Regions from separate parts of the Homo sapiens genome. Here all the other regions are linked to region 1. Evidence: promoter capture Hi-C in 16 types of primary human blood cells and fetal thymus (Javierre and others, 2016). All regions are on one chromosome and are shown on one strand. Each heading gives the region's core, a stretch centred on a gene start or on the middle of the fragment in contact. The rest is flanking DNA. Distances are from core to core; before and after follow the strand shown. Region 1 holds the start of TRAF3IP2 (TRAF3 interacting protein 2). Region 2 overlaps REV3L (REV3 like, DNA directed polymerase zeta catalytic subunit). Region 3 overlaps REV3L (REV3 like, DNA directed polymerase zeta catalytic subunit).

Evidence for each region. Contacts are between HindIII fragments. The CHiCAGO score rates a contact against its expected background, and 5 or more counts as called.
Region 2: a contact is called between a fragment that was not itself captured here and the fragment with the promoter of TRAF3IP2 in region 1, in 2 of 17 cell types (erythroblasts and M0 macrophages). The highest score is 5.3, in erythroblasts.
Region 3: a contact is called between a fragment that was not itself captured here and the fragment with the promoter of TRAF3IP2 in region 1, in 2 of 17 cell types (neutrophils and naive CD4 T cells). The highest score is 6.1, in neutrophils.

What each region holds. Positions count from the first base shown.
Region 1 is chr6:111,604,329-111,607,706 of GRCh38, reverse strand. It overlaps TRAF3IP2 (TRAF3 interacting protein 2), which reads left to right and starts at 1,829. Exons shown (of 9, transcript NM_147686.4): 1 at 1,829-1,931. RefSeq lists enhancers at 233-865, 1,711-1,760, 2,051-2,120. The HindIII fragment of the contact is 15,213 bases long and covers 1-2,562 here.
Region 2 is chr6:111,330,557-111,334,113 of GRCh38, reverse strand. REV3L (REV3 like, DNA directed polymerase zeta catalytic subunit) reads left to right here. Exons shown (of 32, transcript NM_001372078.1): 23 at 747-991; 24 at 2,330-2,438. Among named protein-coding and RNA genes, the nearest start is that of SLC60A2, 73 kb to the right of the region's middle. The HindIII fragment of the contact is 4,545 bases long and covers 1-3,557 here.
Region 3 is chr6:111,308,359-111,311,766 of GRCh38, reverse strand. REV3L (REV3 like, DNA directed polymerase zeta catalytic subunit) reads left to right here. Exons shown (of 32, transcript NM_001372078.1): 29 at 508-698; 30 at 1,668-1,914. Among named protein-coding and RNA genes, the nearest start is that of SLC60A2, 51 kb to the right of the region's middle. The HindIII fragment of the contact is 1,328 bases long and covers 594-1,921 here.

The sequences.
Region 1 (3,378 bases), core at 580-3,079:
TCGGCACCTGGGTGGCTTGCTGCTCACAAGGTGGGAGGATCCCTTGAGACCAGGAGTTCAAGACCAGCCTCAGCAACACAGGGAGACCTGTCTCTAGAAAAAATTTAAAAATTAGCTAGGTGTGGCGGTGTGCACCTGTAGTCCCACCTACCCGGGAGACTGAGGCAGGAGGATTGTTTGAGCCCAGGAGGTCAAGGCTGCAGTGAGCTATGATTGCGCCACTGCACTCCAGCCTGGGCAATAGACTGAGACACTGTCTCTTAAAAAAAATCGATATACATATCTATGTGTGTGTATATGTCACATATATTGGCAAAAAATAAGATAATACTTTTAGTTAAATAATATCTCAGAGCCACTTTTTCATGTTAGTGGCTCAGATAATACATACATATTGATGATTTTTAATAGCTGCATCATTTTCTGCAAACCAAATGCAAACAACCTGTGTATACTGTGTTAAAAACAAGCTGCATTTTCTCTGCTTGTGGAATGTTGAGCAACCTGCTTCCTGTATCCTGCTTGAGCAGAACCTGGTACAATCTGAACAGGGATGCTCTGGGGCCTGTCCCCTTGATGAGAGTAGAGAGATAGCCGGCTGAGTGGACTGACACTTGGACCCCTTCAACAGGCAGACAAGTCCAGCACCAGGAGCATGGTGTGTCTGCCCAGGGCGCCCAGCTGGCCAGTGACATGGCTGAGTTCGTACCCAGGTCCTCCTGACTCCAAAGCTCCAGCTAACACTGCTCCCATTACTGACTGCTGCCCCGAAAGGCAGTTGTCTCTCTCTCTCTCTGTTCACATCGCTGGGTATCATCCTGCCTGCAGCGCTCCTTCATGCAATAAATTCTGCAGGCTACTGATTAAACAATGGGAAGGAAAGGGGAGAAAAAAAATCTTGAGGTCAGGAAAATGCAGCCAGAGGAGGTTAGTGTGCATGTGTGCATGTGTATGTATGTGTGTGTGTGTGTTCTTAAAATTAACCACTTTTTTTGTGCCTGACAATAGGGTGGTGTGTGTGCACAAGCCACAGGCATGTGTATGCTGTGTGTACACGTGTGTCCAGGAGCATGGTCAGTGAGCCCCCCCCCACCCCCCCAGTGGTTATGGGCAGCAAATACTGATTTTTTGGGTTTTTTTAAATTTTTTTTTTGAGACGGAGTCTTCGCTCTGTCGCCCAGTCTGGAGTGCAGTGGCGATCTCGGCTCACTGCAAGCTCCACCTCCCGGGTTCACGCCATTCTCCTGCCTCAGCCTCCCGAGTAGCTGGGACTACAGGCGTCCGCCACTACGCCCGGCTAATTTTTGTATTTTTTAGTAGAGACGGGGTTTCACCTTGTTAGCCAGGATGGTCTCGATCTCCTGACCTCGTGATCCTCCCGCCTCGGCCTCCTAAAGTGCTGGGATTACAGGCGTGAGTCACCGCGCTCGGCAATGCTGATGTTTTAAGCAGTTAGAGGAGGTGGAAGAAGCTCGACTCCCTCTTCTTCCCCATTATCTGCCCACAATCCCCTCCTTTGGAGCTGCTAATGATTACTAATTCTTAACATTCGAGTTCAATCTCCTCCCGGAGACACCCTCCCAGGCGAGGGCACTGCGACTACACTGAGGTTCTGCCCACTCCTGGGCAGCTTCTTAGCTGGGTGGCGAAAACAAAAATGCCGCCTAATTGGTCACTGGCCCTTTCTCATGAATGAAGGAGGTTTCTGTTTTAAGAAATAAAGTGACTCCTCAGCCGTTGATTCACTGCCCACAGGGAGATTTTGAGCAGAGGCTTCCTAGGCTCCGTAGAAATTTGCATACAGCTTCCACTTCCTGCTTCAGAGCCTGTTCTTCTACTTACCTGGGCCCGGAGAAGGTGGAGGGAGACGAGAAGCCGCCGAGAGCCGACTACCCTCCGGGCCCAGTCTGTCTGTCCGTGGTGGATCTAAGGTAAGTTATTCGGAGTTGCCACTTGCCTGGTCTTATTTCTTCACCTCTGACCTATTTCCCAAAGCACGCTGTTTCTCCTTTACTGAAACATTCTGCCTCTACTTTCCTCTGTGTTCGTCTCCCCTCCTTTAACTTGTTCGCACAGAGACCATCTTAGCTGAGAAAATGACAGTGAAGTTTGTGCTGCAAGGATGTGTTGCTAGTATAGTATTTCAGGCCAGCGAGCCCCGCCGGGTTAACCCTTTGAGGAGAGGAGGCTCGCACACGGGGACAGCTCGGAGCTGCCTGGGAACCATTCGTTTGGGTACTTAGTGTCCCCACAAGTTTCTCTCAAGAATTCAAGCCCCACTTCTCCAAAGAGAGAGCCAGGGATGGCAAAGATTAAGTAATTGGCTTTCAGCCCCAGAACACGTCAGTGGCAGTTTTCTCAATCCTTGTTTCGTGCAGGGGGGAAAAAAATCAACAGCACATTTTTGGGCCAGGAAGTTCTGCTGAGCTCTGTGCTGGCTGTGAGCCGCCTCCCGGCCCCTCTCCGCAGCCGCCCTCCAGCCCTCCCAGCCTGGCGCTGGACGGAGCCTTTGGGAACAAGGGGGAGAAATGCCAGAACTTGATCTTAGAAGCTAATCAAGCTTCTTGTGACTTTCAAGTTCAAGATGGTATCTTAGAATAGGGGGATTTTTTTTTTTTTAAAGGAACAGGAGAACAAGAGGCCAAATTTTTTAAAAGGACAAGAAACTTGGTTTCAAGTTCTTCACTTCTTGTGGTTCCATGACTTAGGCAATTCACTCTGACTCCACTAAGCCTGGATTTCTTCATCAGTAAATTGATGGGGGGTGGTGATCTAACATGAGTGTGTCAAATTCCCTTATAAAACAAAGCCAGGATAGTCCCAGAGGGGTAGTGGTAATGGGTGGTCTTCAAGACTTGTTTTGTTTACCGATTATTCACATATTTTAATTTTACCTCCCACTACCAGTTGGTTACCCCCTTGAGGAAAGGACTTTGTTTCCTGATATTTTTCTACCTCCCAGAATCCAGCATGCTACCAAATGCCTAGTAGGTGCTCACCCCCCTTCCATGTCAACTGCTTTGATTTCTGTTTCACTCGTCTGCTCTCAAGGCAAGAGGTAAAGCAGCAGTCAGGGCGAAAGGCTGGGAGACACGTGTCTCTGCGGGAGGGCTGCCTGGAATTGAGGCCTTATTACTGGCTCTAGCCAAATAGGAGAAAACAGGGAGTTTCTCGAATTAGTTCATGTCCCATTTGGGTTACCCAGGAAGGATAGTCTGTGCTATTGTCCACAGAGTCAAGGCAGGCCAGAGAACTGGCAGACAAGCCCAGCTCCAGAAGCCAGAGTTACTGCTGTAGCTGGACCTGGAAACCACTCCTCAGCTGGACCAGTCACTGTGTGTGGGGCCTTTAATGGGAGGGGAAGGGAAACTATGAAAC
Region 2 (3,557 bases), core at 37-2,536, 270 kb after region 1:
TACAAAAATTAGCTGGGCATGATGGCACAAGCCTGTTATCCCAGCTACTTGGGAGGCTGAGACAGGAGAATCACTTGAACCCTGGAGGTGGAGGTTGCAGTGAGCCGAGATTTTGCCATTGCACTCTAGCCTGGACAACAGAGCGAGACTTCATCTCAAAATAAATAAGTAAATAATAAAAATAAAAAGAGATCTAATTGCATCTGTCTTTTAAAATTGACTTATCTTTTAAGTTATTTGACATGTTTTATAGTTTTTATAAAAGTCGTAGGAATAGGAAAAGGATTTACATATATCCCTTTTCGCATCTGAAAGCTGACTAAATAACCAGTATTACAGGCTGGTCATAGTGGCTCACGCCTATAATCCCAGCACTTTGGGAGGCTGAGGTGGGCGGATCACCTGAGGTCAGGAGTTCGAGACCAGCCTGGCTAACATGGTGAAACCCTGTTTCTACTAAAAATACAAAAAATTAGCTGGACATGGTGGCGCATGCCTGTAATCCCAGCTACTCGGGAGGCTGAGGTAGGAGAATCGCTTGAACCTGGGAGGCGGAGGTTGCAGTGAGCCGCAATCGTGCCATCGTACTCCAGCTTGGGCAACAAGAGCGAAACACTGTCTCAAAAAAAAAAAAAAGTCATACAATCTTATTCTGAAAAGCAGATTATCCTCAAATGATTATATATTCAAATGACCAATATATTTAACTGTGTTTCTTCTCTTCTCACCTCCCTTTCTCCCTGCAGTACCGTGTGGAATCAATGATGTTGCGTATTGCTAAACCAATGAACTATATTCCTGTGACACCTAGTGTTCAGCAAAGATCCCAGATGAGAGCCCCACAGTGTGTTCCTCTAATTATGGAGCCTGAATCCCGCTTCTATAGCAACTCTGTTCTCGTTTTGGATTTCCAATCACTTTATCCTTCTATTGTGATTGCATATAACTACTGCTTTTCCACCTGCCTTGGCCATGTGGAGAACTTGGGAAAGTAAGGTTTTTTTCACATTTACAATAATATTGTTGTGCTTTGTACTTCTTACTAAAATTAGACACTTTCTGAGTGTCTCTTTGCTCTGGACACCTTCCCTATGAGCAAGATAAATGGACTGTATCCCAGCTAATCCATTCATTATAGTTGTCTTACCAATTGACATGGATCACCATATGATTAATCCAGCTTCATGGATGGATGACTCATGAAGAGGATTGGGAATAGGTCAGCCTTGCAACTGTTTCACTCCATATGTAACTATAGTCTCTTTTAAAATGAAAGTTAAATTGTTGATGTAAATTACCTTTCAGTGGAACAGTTTGAGGATTATGATCTTATAACTTCAACTAGACCTCCTCTTTATTTTTCTTATAAATAGTCCAGGATTTTAAAAATTAAATGTTAGGTTTTATTAATTAATGTAAATTAAATTTTATAAACTGATAATAACATTTTAAATTCTCAAAGGATTAGATACTTTTCTTAAATTGTAGGAAATAACGGAGTCTTCCTTTTTATTGATTTTTGCGTATTTGAGATCATGTGTTGGTTTTAGTATATCCTATATTCCTTCATAGAAAGCATCTGTGGAAATTATATTGGTAATCCTGTCTTTTTATTAAAAACAGGAATTTGGAAAATTTACAAGATTTACAGTATTTCTATTTAAGGTTTAAATTATTCTTTAAATATATTCACAAGGATGTTAAAATAAATTTTTATTTAAGTAATTTAGTATAAGATGATTGGGCTGGACGTGGTGGCTCACACCTGTAATCCCAGCACTTTGGGAGGCCAAGGCGGGCAGATCATGAGGTTAGGAGATCGAGACCATCCTGGCTAACATGAGGAAACCCTGTCTCTACTAAAAATGCAAAAAATTAGCCGGGTATGGTGGCAGGCACCTGTAGTCCCAGCTACTCGGGAGGCTGAGGCAGGAGAATGGCATGAACCCGGGAGGCGGAGCTTGCAGTGAGCCGAGATCGCGCCACTGCACTCCAGCCTGGGTGACAGAGCGAGACTCCATCTCAAAAAATAATAATAATAAAATAAATAAGATGATCAGATGTTGAGTTGAAATTTGGTATTTCAGTATAGATTTTACCCATAAATTTTAGGATAGTGCCATTTAAGAAATGTTTCTTGTAATAAATTATGAATATTTGAAAAACTATTTTGGTAATGAGGCAAATAAACATATTACTAAGTACATGAATTCTTGTTTAGATGTTTGAAAATGAATTTCTAATGGAGTTAGAAAGATTTTTTAAATTGCGTAAAATCTCTGTTCTATGATTTGAGGAAGTATTTGCTTAATGTTCTCTTTCTTAACAGGTATGATGAGTTCAAATTTGGCTGTACCTCTCTGAGAGTACCTCCAGATTTACTTTACCAAGTTAGGCATGATATCACAGTGTCCCCCAATGGAGTAGCTTTTGTCAAGGTAATACTCTCTTGTAAATGAAAGATAACAACTATGGCTTAACTTTTGGAGAGCTGATAATGGTTTAGATATTGTTGGCACATAATAGAAAACAAAAACACCGAGTTTGCTTGAATATTTTATCTCAAAAAGTCAAAGATATGAGAATCTTCTAAGAAATCACTTCAGGAACAAACCAGTCACCTTGTTTTTCTTGAATTTAGGTTTTAAATCTTTAAATTGTTAAATTTTAGTTAACGAAATATTGAAAGAAATAAACGTATGCTTATACTTTCTGCCCTTTATTAGAATCAGGCAGACTTAAATGGCAACTTAATGGTCAAAATATATTACCTACAAAGATTTAAATTGTTTTAATGTGTAGATGCTACTAGTTGTTCTTCTACATTATTTTAAATTAAGACTATCTTAGAATTAATGATACTCTAATAGGCTTATTGTTTATATTTTTCAGAAGATATCCAAACTAAAAATAGGGTCCCTTTTTTCTCTCCTGTATCTCCCCTCAAAAGAGACAGAGGAAAACTTTACAAATTAAAGACAAATAAGAGACATCTTAAAAGAAGATTATATTGCCTCTTAAATGCCAACTTTATTCCTTTCTTTTCTATTTTCTTAGCAGTGAGTCTGTACTAGAATCATGAGACAGTAGAGTGGTTGATGGTAGAGTGGACCCCACCAGCCCTCAAATTCATTCTGGTGTACTATATCAAAAGTGGCATCATTCTCTACCAGTAAGAGGGAATACTAAACTAAAATTAGCCATGTAGATGAAGAAAATTTTAACCAAAGAGTTCATGGTATGTTTCTTTTTGGAAAATTTTAAAATGTAGTATTTCTAAGGACTGATGTAGATGAGATCTACTTGGAGAAATGGAAACAGATTTTTTTTTATTAAATGGGTCTCTATATAAAAATCAGTTTTCCAGTCACATTTCTGCGAATTTGGTCCCTGTTCTTTTTATCTTATGTCTTAAAACATTATGGCTGCTTCAAAATGTACACCAAATGAATTAGAGGTTAGAATATGTTCCATTGTCGCATATCTAGCAGCTTATTATCTCCCTTTAACAGCTTTTTTTTAAACTTGCATCTACTTTTGGACCCAGTGTGTAAAGC
Region 3 (3,408 bases), core at 8-2,507, 300 kb after region 1:
GAAATTTCCAACACAGAAAATTCTGTCATAGTTATTTATCAACATTTTTATAAAAAGTCAAAAAGGCTGATTTTGATTTGACTGCCTGGTGATCTTTAAACTTCTCTGTGTTTCCTGTGACTGAATCAGGACCCTTTCTATACTGGTAAATAAAAAAACAATACATGAAATCGTGTCTGGTTTCTTGTACCTAGAGGCTTTGACTATTAAAAAAAAAAAACTTAACGTGTTTTATGTTGCTTATCACATGACAAATGTTAATTTGCATGTCATTCCACATGGTTTTCCTTAAACTACATGATATTCTATTTTTAGAAATAGCAAGCTCTCTAAAGTCTCAAATAACTTTCAATTTTTAATAATTTTATTATCCCATCATTGTAAGTAACAGATTATTTAGGTAGGTTAGCAGGTTACCCAGTAGTTACATAATTGAAAGTGTAATAACAATGGTGAAACATACTAGGAGATATTTTATCTTTACTTGCATATCTTTTTTGTTTTAAGATACTTGAGCGTTCTCTAAAGCTGCTATTTGAAACGAGAGATATAAGTCTAATTAAACAGTATGTTCAGCGACAATGTATGAAGCTTCTGGAAGGAAAGGCCAGCATACAAGACTTTATCTTTGCCAAGGAATACAGAGGAAGTTTTTCTTATAAACCAGGAGCTTGTGTGCCAGCCCTTGAACTTACAAGGTAATGATACCCTCAGTACCTTGCCAGGATAGTCCTGAGATTCTGCACAGGTCTAGAAGACCCAAATGAAAAGACAGTCCATAGACACAGACACAAAATTGTTTCTTTACCTGCGCACATGAAGCCTCACTGAAAGTTAGTGAATATTCCCTCATACTTCGTAAGATGTGAAGAGGAAATCCTCTTTTGGGCTTTCCTTCAGAAACTTATGCAAAGAAATTGTGACACAGTCCTTGATTCATTTGTTTTTCCCACATCAAAATCACTAGGTAGTCCTTAATATTGTTCTACCAAAGCATTTAGATGGTATCATTCTGGAATCAGATAGTTTAACCAGGTAAATTTTCTCTTATCTTTCATGATAGATTTAATGATAGTTAGTTCTCATTCTTAGGGGATAAAATACATCTTTTTCCTGCCCCTGGAGGCAGGGTCTCACTCTGTCGCCCAGACTGGAAAGCAGTGGTGCAATCACAGCTCACTGCAGCCTTGACCTCCCAGGCTCAAGCGAACCTCCCACATCAGCCTCCCAAGTAGCTGGGATAACAGGTGTGCACCATTATGGTGGCTAATTTTTTTGTGGAGATGGGGGTCTCGCTATGTTGCCCAAGCTGGTCTCAAACTCCTGGGCTCAGGTGATCCTTGGCCTCCCAAAGTGCTGGAATTACAGGCATGAGCCACCACTCCCACCTAAAATACATCTTAAGCTAGTTGATATCTGCCAACTCATTATTTTCCAGGTAACAGTGATTTACAGAGTAATTTTTAAACTCTTGTAGGATATCTACACTTGGTGTCAACTAAGCAAAATGTATATATATTATTCTCAAAGAAATAGTAATTCTGTTTTGAAATTGTCTTTTGTAGTTTTTTCATTGTTTTATTATTGTTTAATTCTGACTTAATTTGTGAGAAAGATGGCTTCCATAACAGTATTTGGGTGTGGTTTTTTTCTTTGAATTCGAATAGGAAAATGCTGACTTATGACCGGCGCTCTGAGCCTCAGGTTGGGGAGCGAGTGCCATACGTCATCATTTATGGGACCCCCGGAGTACCACTTATCCAGCTTGTAAGGCGCCCAGTGGAAGTCCTGCAGGACCCAACTCTGAGACTGAATGCTACTTACTATATTACCAAGCAAATCCTTCCACCCTTGGCAAGAATCTTCTCACTTATTGGTATTGATGTCTTCAGCTGGTATCATGAATTACCAAGGGTAAGCTTACCAAATAGTACATGTGCTCTAACTATGGAGAGATTTCACTCCAAATTTTCAGTAGAACTAAAGGTTTTATGTGCTATTGATATGGGAGTGCTGGGAAGGGAAGAGTGTGGTCCCGTAAAATGATACGGAAAGCGGGAGGGGAAGTGCTGGGTAGAGAAAGGTGGGTCCCTGGCTAGGGCTCCACCCCCACAGATCTAGGTGAGGATAGGCACTCCTGCTTTCATGCCCAAATGTTACCATTTTCCAAGACCACCTTGGCCTGCCATGCCCCAATCCTGGGCCTATAAAAACCCGAGACCCTAGTGGGCAGACACACGAGCGGCTGGACATTGTGAGGAACACTTCGGTGGAAGACCCAAGCAGCTGGTCGTCAAGAGGAGCACGCCAGCAGAACAGCACACCGAGAGGCACTGGCATGCTGGCAGGCCATTGACCGGCAGGACAAGGTGGAGTTTGGCCAGGGCAGTCAGAGAAGAGACGGGGCCACCTAGAAGCCCAACTCCAGGGGAAAACCATCTCCCTGCTGATTCCACCATCAGATGAGAGCTACTTCCACTCAATAAAACGTTGCACTCATTCTCCTAGCCCACGGGTGATCGGATTCTTCTGGTACACCAAGGCAAGAACCCGGAATACAGAAAGCCCTCCATCCTTGAGACAAGCTAGAGGGTCTAATTGAGCTGGTTAACACAAGCCGCCTATAGACAGCAAACTAAAAGAATACCCTGTAACACACACCCACTGGGGCTTCAGCTGTAAACATTCACCCCTAGACACTGCCATGGGGCCAGAGCTCCACAACCTGCCCGTCTGTGTGCTCCCCTAGAGGTTTGAGCAGCGGGGCACTGAAGAAGCGAGCCATTGTCCCTCTCGCACACCCTGCAAGGGGAACAAGGGAACCTTTCCTGTTTCACTGTGAGAGCAAAGCAGATCCTCTGTCCTAAACTGGCAAAGATGCCATGCTCTCCTGGTTTCCTAAAAGATAAACGTTTTAAGTATTCTACAAACACATTCCTAGCTTCTATCAAGTTGGCCAAATTATAGAAATATTAAAATAAATCCCACAACAATTTCAATGGTAGCCGCAAATAACGTAGAATAAGCCAGTTAATAGAAAATAAATGTACAGCAAAAATTCCTTCGAAATGAATGTCTAAGAAAGGTGTAGGATTTAGTATCTAGACACACTAGACACAGCCCTGAAGAAACCAGAGTAAAGAATTACTGCAATGGTAAAATAGCATTATAGTTGTTCCCCAACTTATGATGGTTCAACTTAAGATTTTTCTACTTAACGATGGTGCGAAAATGATATGCCTTCTGTAGAAACCGTAGTTCAAGTACCCATACAACCATTCTGTTTTTCATTTTTGGTACAGTATTCAATAAATTCCATGAGATATTCAACACTTTATTATAAAATAGGCTTTGTGTTAGATGATCTTGCCCACCTATATGTTACTAAGTGTTCTGAGCACATATCCT